Linked DNA regions of Homo sapiens: region 2 is linked to region 1. Evidence: promoter capture Hi-C in human tissues and cell types (Jung and others, 2019). All regions are on one chromosome and are shown on one strand. The core of a region is centred on a gene start or on the middle of the fragment in contact, and the rest is flanking DNA. Distances in the headings are between cores, read along the strand shown.

Evidence for each region. Contacts are between HindIII fragments. The study calls those that stand out against the background at their distance.
Region 2: a contact is called between a fragment that was not itself captured here and the fragment with the promoter of FANCL in region 1, in 1 of the 25 tissues and cell types used here (mesendoderm cells).

What each region holds. Positions count from the first base shown.
Region 1 is chr2:58,238,392-58,244,300 of GRCh38, forward strand. It overlaps FANCL (FA complementation group L), which reads right to left and starts at 2,934. Exons shown (of 14, transcript NM_018062.4): 1 at 2,827-2,934. The coding sequence starts at 2,922. RefSeq lists a silencer at 2,532-2,581 and an enhancer at 3,122-3,281. The HindIII fragment of the contact is 14,155 bases long and covers 1-5,909 here.
Region 2 is chr2:58,562,640-58,568,548 of GRCh38, forward strand. The region is part of intron 1 of LINC01122 (long intergenic non-protein coding RNA 1122); the gene reads left to right. Among named protein-coding and RNA genes, the nearest start is that of LINC01122, 45 kb to the left of the region's middle. The HindIII fragment of the contact is 5,805 bases long and covers 777-5,909 here.

The sequences.
Region 1 (5,909 bases), core at 1,684-4,183:
GTTTTTGTTTTAAGCCACTAAGGTTTGAAGTAAATAGCAGCAAAAGATAACCAACATAGAGAGCATCATTACAGATCCTAAAGACATTAAAAGGATAATAAGGGATTATTGTAAATAACTTTAAGCCAATAAAATCAGAAACCTAGATGAAACTAACAAATTCCTTGAAAGACACAAACTACCAAAGCTCACTCAAAAGGAAAGAGAAAATCTGATAATAGAGACAACACCTAAAACTGATTACATATTAGGTCACAGGAAAAAGTACCAGTAAGTTCCATGGAGACTTTTTTATAAACAATACTGTCTAATTACAATACAAGAAAAATTAGAAATCAGCAACAAAATTAAAAACCAAAAAGGACCTTCCACGAGAAAATTTTTACAACCTATTAAGGTGCATAGTAAATTGACATCATATAGCTTCTAAAAATGGTGGTTATAAGGCTACATGTCAGCATCTATAGGATACTTTTAAAACACTGATGAGAGGAAATGCAAAGCCTTAAAAACTTACATACATAAAACCTGCTCACTGGCCAAATCTGGGACAATTCGAGGATCAAAATAAATAATGATTATAATCAAGTAATTTTTTTAAAAGTCCATGCATCCATTCTAATATAATTAAATAAATGAGAAAGCAGGCAATGCTACTCCTTATAATGAATTGCCACTTCATAAATATAGAAATGACAAGAGTTAGAAAATCATCATTTGGCAACCGTGATAGTAATAGTCGACTCAAGCAAAAGTCAATGGACGCTAAAACCAGAGAATGTGTGTGAAAGTTTGATGCCTCAGAGTACCTCCCCAAAAGTACTTATTAATTACAAAAGGAGACTCTGACAGATGATACCTTAACCAGGTGATCAAAGTTAACATCATTAATAATGGAACCAACCAGGTAACCTCACAAGCCTTGAGAAGGACAAAACAATCTTTCTGTAGTATCCCTGCCAAAAATGCATTAGCTGAATTTAATAGTGAGGAAATATCATCCAAACCCAAATTGAGATACATTCTACCTAACAGCCAATCTGTACTCTTTAAAAATGTCTAGCTTATAAAAAACACAAACAGACTGAGAATTGTTCCAGGTTAGACATGACAACTAAATGTAATGTGGGATCTTAACAACAGATGGTAGGGGATGGGGGTATAAAACATACAACTGTATCATAAACAAAATTTGAAATATGGACTCTATCTTAGATAATAGTATATCATTAAATATCCTGATTTTAATCACTGTACTGTGGTTATGTATGAGTGTGTCCTCGTTCTTATGAAATGTATGCTCAAGTATTTAGGGATAAAGGGGAACTACGCCTGATTTGACCTCAAATGGTTCAGGAAAATAATGTGTATACACACCCACCCACATACATATACTTAACAATGATCAGTAAAATGGAGAAAATGTAAACTGGTGAATCTAGGTAAAGGGTATACTGGAATTACTTGTACTGTATATCCTTGCTACTTTTCTGTAAATTTAAAATATATACAAAATATTTTTAGACACGTAAAATGTTTAAGATTTAAATAAACTGCTAAGGCAGGTACAAATTGGAATTCTAGCTATAGCAATGGTCATAAAAGAAACTTTCATCTAATCTCAATTCTAATGGGTGTACTTGTTTCCTAAAAGGCCTTAGCAGATATAGACATACATAACAGTATTTTGCCTAAAATTAGGTATAACATGCTTCCTGTAAAAAAAAAAAAAAAAAAGTAACTTAAAATTTTTCAACTTTTCTAAATGTTGTCTACAAGAGAATCATATTTTCAGCTAGGTAATTCAAGAAGAATACTTCTAATTGGAGAGGGAAAGGTGGATTAACTTTTTTCCATATGGAATAATGAATTTTTAACCTCTACTTTCTGTGATGGTCATATGGTAATTCCACATATACTCAAAGACTATGCGTGATGGTGGGGAAGTGGGCACAAGGTTGAGTGTAATGGTCAGAAAGGAAAAGTCTACACTCCTAACCTAAGGTATCCTGGTGCAATGTAAAGAGAAAAAAATCCAGGACTGAAATCACACAGCCTGCGTTTAAGGGATTCTGATGTGATCATCAGCAAATAACGTCTCCGGTTTCCCATACCTTGATTTCTTCAACTAGAAAATGGGAATGATGATTCTTTTAAAAATTTCTGCCTCAAAGGGCTGAGGATTAAGTGAACTATTTACCTGGAAAGCGCTTTGTAAACTTCAAAACCCTACACATGTGTTAGTATGTGTAATAAACTCCATATGAGAGGCCACTGGAATCAGCAAAGTTAATTAATTCCATTGCTGTCATGCTTCTCCTAGAAGATATTGTAACTGTGGGTGTACAGGTACATACGACTTGGCAAAGGGCCAAAATAAGGTTTTCTTCCCAAATGTTCTTTCTACAGGAAACACGAAAATAATTAGCCCAGATTCCCGAGTGAACTCATCAACATCCGTGGAGGTGGAGGGTGTTAAAATCGAGTTAAGGCAAAATTTACAAAAAAAAAATTAAAAAACAGTCAATTGCGGGACACTGAACGAAGAAGGAAGCCAAACTCGGGGAAGGGCTAGGGAGAGAGGAGGCGTGGCCCCAGCCCCGCTCCACGCCGCGCGCCTCCTCGCTCCCCATCCAGCGCGGCGACCACCGGGGTGGCGGCGACAGCGGCGCTTCTCAAACCTTTAGTCTCCCAAGAGCCGTTACGCGCCGCCCCTCTCAATCCCCACAAGTCTGGGCCCCTAACCTCCTAGCCCGTCACAGACTTCTCCGCGCAGCTACGCTGCAAGAGGCTCTCTTAGCTAGAAAGCAACCACTGGGCGGGTACCTGAGCCGAGATGAATCCCTCATACACGGTTTTCGACCGGTTCTGGGGCAGAAGCAGGGGGCACTGGCGCAACAGGCTCGCTTCCGTCACCGCCATGGCTCGAAGTCCGGAGAAACACAGAAAAGCTCTAGACCTGCTGGGTCCTGCACATGCGCAGTCCGCTGGCGCTCGGACGCCGCGGAGCGGAAACCCCAGCCTTGGCGGGAAGATCCTGGAGGATTCCGCGGGCGGAAATGAAGGTGAAGCGCAGGCCAGGCCAAGTGGCGCTCTGCGGGAGGCGACATCAGGGCTCCCCAACCGGTAGTGGGAGGGAAGATTGCCCTCAAGTCCACAGGACTGACTGACCAAGATCATTCTAGCCTCAATTGTCCCAGGAGCCCTTTCGATGATTCTGTTTTACTTTATTGAAAGACTGTTACAACTTTGGTGTTGCATTTCCTCCAGAATAAAATGACTTTTACAGCCTGGACGTTGTAGCACTCTGTCTTCTTTGCTGTTGTCCTCTCTCCCTTAACATACAGAATAATGTATTATTTTGTGTATAATTATTGTAATATAATGTATAACACATTGATTATATCATATATATTACAGTTCTGTGGCTTACTAAGTTCAATCAGATATATTTGAGGCACACACATGTATACGTATATGTGTATTGATTAGACTCAAGTCAACACTGGACTCAGTTCTGTGTACGGCACTCACAAATATATAAAGCAAAACATGAGTAAAGATTGCTGATGGACTTGAACTTAATTTTCCTCTGACAGCGCTTGCAATATGTTTTTCTAACTCAGGAATGTTATCCATCCCATCTTATTAAGAGTTGATTAAATAAGAAACCTACTAAAATATTTACCATATGATTATTTGATTTTCCAATTTTCCAATTTTCCAATGCATCACGTTTGAGCCCTACTATTTGAAAAACATCATTGTAATGTGCCAAAGGTTGAGCAAAGATTATTTCGTCCCCTACCCATCTTTATTGACCTCAAGACAGAATTTGACATCCTGAAGATTCTTAAAGTTTGACAAGAATTTGTCACAGCATTCTGGATGCTTACAGAAAAGAATGCTGGAGCAGTGGTTAGATATAAATTACATTAAAGCAGTGGTTCTCAAAACGTGATCCTAGAACCTAGCAACAGCATCACCTGGGAACTATGTAGAAATACAAGTTTTCACCGCTGATGGGGTTCAGGATATGCTACCCCAAAATATGGCCCCTTGACATTTGAGAAAACAACAAAACCTAAGATCACTCTCTGACCTTCTCCCATCCTTCTTCCCTGAGGCGGGTCATTGGATCCTCAATCCAGAGGTGCTCTTCCTATACCCACAGGAAAGAAATATCCTTATCTCTAAAGAAACGGAGACATAGAAAAGAATCTGAACAAAAAGACCTTTGACAACTTACCCCAGTTTATTACCATTAGACCATGCTTTGTCCAACCGTACTTCCCCACAACTGTCCACTGTTCCTTCTAAAAATGCACAGGTTTTCCTGTTTCTTTGGGCTTCATCTCTGAAGGCTCCCATGCCACATAAAACTTAAATAAATTTGCACGCTTTTCTCTTATTAATCTGTCTTTTCTTATAAGGGACTCAAACAGGAATCTAGCAACAGGAAAGAAAGATGTTTCTCATTCCCTACAGGCCCCTATTTCAAACCTCGGGAATCCCAAACACTGGCAATAGGGCTCAGCAGTCTGCGTTTTAACAAGCTCTCCAGGTGATTCTGATGCATGCTAAGGTTTGAGGATCTCTGCAGGGGCAGGACATAACACCTGCTTTATTTTGCAACTCGGTAATTAAGGACGGCCATGCTACATGTTTTCCTATAAGAATAAAGTAGAGGCTGTGCAAAAGTGGGATCAACACAAAGATTAAGAGAACATATAGTCCCTTACTTCAAGCACTTTATAATTTATCTGTGAATTAAGATCTTTATTGTATCCAGTATGTTAAACTTCCCCACCACCACACTTTCCCCCATGGAACTTCTACCCTTTCTTTAAAGTTCTTCTCAAGTGCTATGTCTTTTTGGAAAGCTTTTTTAATCTTCTGAAAATTATTGCTCTCCCTAATCATTTAGCATATTTCCTGCTGCATCGTAGGTGCTAATAAATTATTTACTAAATATCTTAATTTGGGTTGTTATAGCAGAATACCATAAACTGGATAGGTAATCCGCAGAAATTAATTATTTCTTAGTTATGGAGGCTGAGAAGTCCAAAATCAAGACGCAAGGACAAGATTTGGTGTCTGGTGAGGAGTCACTTCCTGGAACACAGTCTTTTGGCTGTGACCTTACATCACATTCACCTTTACTATTGATACACTGGACAGTGTGACCACTTGCCAAAAGCAGTTGGCTCCTTGATTCGGAATCCCCATAATTAGGTAACTAGACTTAAAGATTTCCAGCACGTTTATTGCTAATTTATCATCTTAGATTTTAAAGAAAAGACATCCAAGTCACTGTTATGATAGTTGAACTTGTAAATGAGCATTCCTTATCAATAAAATCTATAATTGAAGAAATCCAATGACCAAGGAACAAGGTAAGATACCATATAAAAACTTTTTAATTCAATTACTCGACTATTATCCTTAGGTGTTCAAGACTGAAAGTTGGATACTCACTACCATCATCAATTCATACGTGGTTGTGCTGGAACCATTTATATATAGCCCAGTTGAAGTCAGCCACCCCAAAATCCAAAAAAAAAAAAAACAAAAATGCTCAATATGTTTAAAGATCAGAAAGCCAAGGAACTACTTCTACCACCATCAGCATGATTTCAATTTTGGAATCACTCTGACAAACTGCACAAAGATCCTCATTAAAGTTCAAGTTCCACCAGGTATCCTAGGCAGGATTTCATTTATATACTTTGCCACAAAAATTACTACTATTTAAATGCTATTGCCTGAGGAAGAACTTTATATTCTAACACAGAAAAATATCCAAACATTTTGACAAATAAAAAGCACAAATTCCAGAATGGTATGCTTACTATTATAACATTTATATTCAAATATATAAGTAAAGTTGCTCTGTATTACTAGCAATG
Region 2 (5,909 bases), core at 2,429-4,928, 320 kb after region 1:
GCAAATGTATGCATGGTATTTTTTAGACCTCAATATAATGCAAGAGGAAAGTAGTATTGTACTCATTTTTAGAGGATAAAATTGATTCTAGGAAGGTTAAGTGACTTGTGCCAGGCTAAATAATTAGTAGTGGCCCTAGGATTGAAACAAAAGCATTCTATAGATATTTATTGAGTTAAGCTCTAGCTACTAATATCTATCTATCTATCTATCTATCTATCTATCTATCTATCTATCTATCTATATAGTGAAAGAACCAGACATGATCTTTGTCTTTCTGGGGCTTATGGTTTAGAGGGGAAAACTAATATTAAAAAAAAAAAACTTCATGTAAAAATATATGTGATTATAAAGTTTGATAAGTATTATGAATAAAAAGTTCAGGGGGACATAATTTTCCTTGGAATGTCAGAATATGTAAGTAGGGACCTGAAAAATGAGGAACTATTATCTAGGTGAAGAATGGAGATAATTCTGTTCCCTCCAAGGAAATGGCCTATGTCAAGGCTCCAAGTAGGACATAAAAACTGACTGGAATAACCAGAGCATAGTAATTGAGGATGGTGTGATGAGGCTAGAAAATAGGCAAGGACCAGATTTTTATAGAGCTTTGGAAGACATGATACGGATTTAGATTTTTATCTAAAATGCAGGTCGGCCTGGCACAGTGGCTCATGCCTGTAATCCCAGCACTCTGGGAGGCTGAGGTGAGCAGATCACCTGAGCTCAGGAGTTCAAGACCAGCCTGGCCAACATGATGAAACCCCATCTCTACTAAAAATACAAAACTTAGTCAGGCATGGTTGCAGGCACCTGTAATCCCCACTACTTGGGAGGCTGAGGCACGAGAATCTCTTGTACCCAGGAAGCAGAGGTTGCAGTGAGCCGAGATTGTGACACTGCACTCCAACCTCACAACAGAGTTAAGACTGTGTCTCAAAATAAAATAAAATAAAATGCAGAGGAATACCATTGAAGCAGGGCAATGTCATAATTAAGATTCACAAAATCATACCTGTTGCTATGTAAGAAATGGATTAGAGGGGTTTCTTTCATATCTAGATCATACAACAAACACTTTTAATCATAATTATATGTTTCTAGTGTTGTTAGTTAAATGAATGAAAGAATAAATGAATAATTGGATCTGCAGATAAAATGTAGAACAACGCTTTAAAAGACAAATGAATTTTTGTTAGTCAGCACCAGAGAGAGAATTACCTACTAACATGGCTCTGAGAAAGTATTATAATATGGTTCTAAAGATAAAATTTACCTACCTCACATTTTTTATTTCTTTTTTCCTACTCTTATATATTAATATTAGGTTGGTGCAAAAGTGCTTTAGAGATTGAGCTTTTCAGAACTCTCTGCTTAAATTAAATGTATTTCCTTTTTAGAAACTTTAGCTTTCTTTAAGTTAAAGTTTCCTAATGCTGAATACCTAACAACCTGATAAAATTATTTTAGAGTTGAAGGAATCAAGAGCTCAAAATATGCCTTCACCCCACAGGTTTTCAAATTCAGAATGATAGCTGCTCAGTGTGTATTTATGTGCTTGCCAGTATATACTAGATATATTTAAAGTTTTTTAGTTCTTTTCCCTCTAAGCAGAGGCATTAATGGGCTATTATTGTTATAATGGGTGTATTGGTGGTTTATGAAGAAATTACTCTTAGGGGTATATGCATATTCACTTGTATATAAAGACAAACATTGACCCTCAAGGTGTCCATTTACATTTTAGGCTTTTCAGCTTCCTGACTTACAAGGGAACTATCAATATATTTAAAAATAAACAAAGAAATAACAGAATTGGAAGTCTACATAAAAGATCACCTAACCCACTGCATGGTTTGGATGTGTCTCTCAAAATTTGTGTGTTAATTCCAAATGCAACAGTGTTGGGAGGTGGAAACTAATGGGAAGTGTTTAGATCAGGAGGGCTTTGCCCTCATGAATAGATTAATTCTACTATGAAAAGGGTTTGAGGGAGTGGGTTCACTCTCTTTTGCTCTTCTTCATGTGAACACCCAGTACCTTGATCTCGGACTTACCAGCCTCCAGAACAGTGATAAATAAATTTCCGTTTTTAAAAATAATTTACCCAGCCTGTGGTATTCTATGATAGCAATAAAAAACAAACTAAAACACCCACCATGTTTATATTTCAAGCAGAGAAGCTTTTGTAAGGAGTTGGGCTCCTTTTTTGTTGTCATCGAGGAAAGACAGTGTCTCTCCCCACTGGTCACTGAGGATCTGTAATAATCTCCTTGAGAGCAGGTCACTATCTGAAGTAGAATATCATTTGGCCTTGTACACCTTGAGACCCCTGTGGTGATCAGACATTTGAATATGCTATCCTCTCTGTCTGGAATGTTTTCTTCTCTCCTTTTCACTTCATACTCATCCTTCAAAATGCAGTGATCTTATTTTTCTAGGGCAGTCTTCCCTGAACTCTCTTTTATGTTAAATTAGATTATACTATCTTTTGGGGCCCTCTGAGTACCATGGAATTTATCACAGCTGAAACTTTACAAATATTTGTGTGGTTATTTGATTAATATTTAGTTTGTGAGCTCCTAAGGTAAATAACAGCTCAATGACAGTGACATCCAGCATATATGAATGCAACCAAGGAAAGGCAATTAATATCTTCACCAGTTTCACAATAAAACAGTATTTTAAAAATATTTCTTTTTTTTTTTTTTTTTTGAGACGGAGTTTTGCTGTTGTTGCCCAGGCTGGAGTGCAGTGGCGCGATCTTGACTCACTGCAAACTCCCCCTCCCGCTTTCAAGCGATTCTTCTGCCTCAGCCTCCCAAGTAGCTGGGGTTACAGGTGCCAGCCACCATGCCCAGCTAATTTTTTGTATTTTTAGTAGAGACAGGTTTTCACCATGTTGGCCAGGCTGGTCTTGAACTCTTGACCTCAGGTGATCTGCCTACCTCAGCCTCACAAAGTGCTGGGATTACAGGCTTGAGTCACCATGCCTGGCTTAAAGATGTTTCTTATCAAGATTAAGTTTATTACAAAAGATGTCTCATTATTAGAATGCTATAGAAATTCCTTCCTTTTTTTACTTATTTATTTATTTTTGAGACAGTCTCGCTTTGTCACCCAAGCTGGAGTGCGGTGTTGTGATCATGGCTCACTGCTGCCTCAACCTCCTGGCTGCAAGTGATCCACCCACCTCAGCCTTCCAAGTAGCTGGGAGTACAGGCATATGCCACCATGCCTAGCTAATATTTTAAATTTTTGTGGAGATGGCATCTTGCTATGTTGCTGAGGCTGGCCTTGAACTCCTGGGTTCATGCCATCCTCTCATCTTGGCCTTCCAAAGTGCTGGAATTACAGGTCTGAGCCACCATGCCTGGCACCTTTCTCCTTTTCAAATAAATCAACTAAAGTCATGAAAATCGAAGTCTTTTAGCAGTTAATTTCAGTGTCTTGTCTGCAACCCACACTTAGAATTATGTTTTACATAATGACCGTAAACCTGCGAATATGAATAAAAGTTTTATGAAAAACTTCCATCATACTATACAATCTCCCACTGTATTGTAATAAAGGATGCTGATCATAAACCCCCAAACTGATGTACCTTCCATCAATGGGTTGTGATGCAATGTTTGAAAAGTACTTAAAGTGTTTATCTAATTGGGATTCTTCTCTATTACAAAATAGATAACTGAAAATTTAAATTATCTACCCATTGATAGTGTTACATATGCTTTTTTATTTTCTTCTTTATAGTATTCTGTATTGTCTACTTACTAAAATTAAATATATTGCATTTGTACTCAGAAACTAAGTTTAGGGAAATAAAGTTCCTTTTCAGTTATTACTTTGTTACTGCTAAAATATATACTTTTTTGATATTCTAACAGTCTAAATCTTTGCTTTGCTTTTCACTAACTTCTCAGCTCACACTAGTCTCATCTCAACAAAGATTTCTCTTTTTTGAATCTTCATAAAATCCTCCAGCTTCCAATTTGTATCTGAAGAGCTATTACATAAAACTGATTTCCCAGTACTTGTTTGGCAAAGCCTCACTTATATCCAATATTTAGATACTCTGAAGACAAGTACTGTGGGTGTCATTCACAATTTAGATTATCAACTTCTGGCCAGGAAATTCACTTTATTGCAGTATGTATAGTGCAAAGTACTTTGTGTTGTTTGTGTTTAACATTGTTTGTTAGTATCATTATCAACATAGTAATGTTATAAATAGCATTGTCAGAAACTACAACAGTCACTAAGATAACAGCCTTAACACCAGTGGCATGTACAGTATGCCATTATATTAATTATCACAATGGATCTGACAGGCTGCTCCTAAGAATTCACAGTAGTGAGTAGTTTATGATTTTAAACTCAAGAGGAAAACTGGAGAATACATCAATCCTAATACACTGTTGTCTCTGTGAACCTCCCTCTTTTTCTCAGTTTTAAAAAATAAAGAGGAAAATGATAAACTATTACTGAACCACATTCATTAATGGAATTAAATAAGTTGTTAGCTCTGTAATAAAGAAATGTGACAAAGAGTACATAATTTTTTTGCTCTATAATTTGATCATTGTCATTTGGCTGGATACAAGTAGTTCATCAGAAGGAAATTGTGCGTACCCAACAAGGTAAAGCTGTGAAAGAAAAGAGAATGTTGCATATTTATATTTATATTTCTAAATATGATTCCATTGAGAAAATATTTTCCTCTGTTGGGGAAAGGAATGGCATGTCATCTCTAAGCTGGTTTTATAATTTGGTATGTTGTAGATTCTGTAGTCATGAACATTAGGAGTGGGATAAAAGTCACTATCACTGCAATGTCCTCCCAATCTAAATAGTAAAACTGAACTTAACAAAAGGATATTTTTCCCTGTGGTATAAATTAAAAGTTGATTGTAATTCATAAAATGAACTTCTAATACTGCTTCTGAAAGCTTTATGTATACATGGATAATTTACTTATTTATTCCTATAGCACTGGACAGAAATGAATACTCAAAGTGTCCTCAATGTTTAGGGGTTCCTACAGAGTATAAAGTTATCTGTTTATTTACAGTTTTAATTACTATAAAGGAAATTGTTTCGTGGCTTCTGCCTTTATTTTTAGTTTCTTAAGGAATTATTAGATAAACATAGATTTCAATTTTACCAACTATCTTCTTTGATGGTCTGCTATTTGGCTAGCTTCTATCAGAAATCTATACTACCAATGGCCTTTGAAAGCAGTGAGTATATGAAATTAAATGCTGGAAATAATTATGGTTAAGCAGCAGTCTGAAAATACATGACACATACTCATTTGTATAATAGGATAATTTCATTTTGCGTTCACTTTGGTGTCATAAGAGTTAAACTTGGTTAAATAAATGGTTTGTGTTTTAGGCTTTTATTTATAACTGTATCTTATGTTTTATTTATAACTGTATCTTATGTTTACTTATTTAAAAATATAACATATAACTGTATAGGATTTGTTGAAGATAACTTAGGGTTAATTCATATTATGGCTAGTTTGTATCACATGGTTATTTAGGCAAACTACCTTTATCTCAGATCTTAGGAACTAAGTAAAATCTGACATATTTAATGTTGTGCTTCCATTATGAAATAGTATTTAGATAATTAAATTAAAAAGCAAATTTAAGTTCTTCATCAAGTCAATATTCTAGAGTTGGATCCAGTTGATCTAACTTCAGCTGTTGTCTTTAGACAGCGTGGCTGTCAGTGGTCATGGTCTTAAATGGAATAAAAAGCAATTCCTAATAAGTTGAAATAAGTCATTCCTTTGAACCTGTTATAAACAAATAACAAGACTTTCATCAGATACTTTTCATAAAAATGAGCAACTTTGTTCCAATACTCTTGGAAAATTCCAAAGGAAATATGCACTC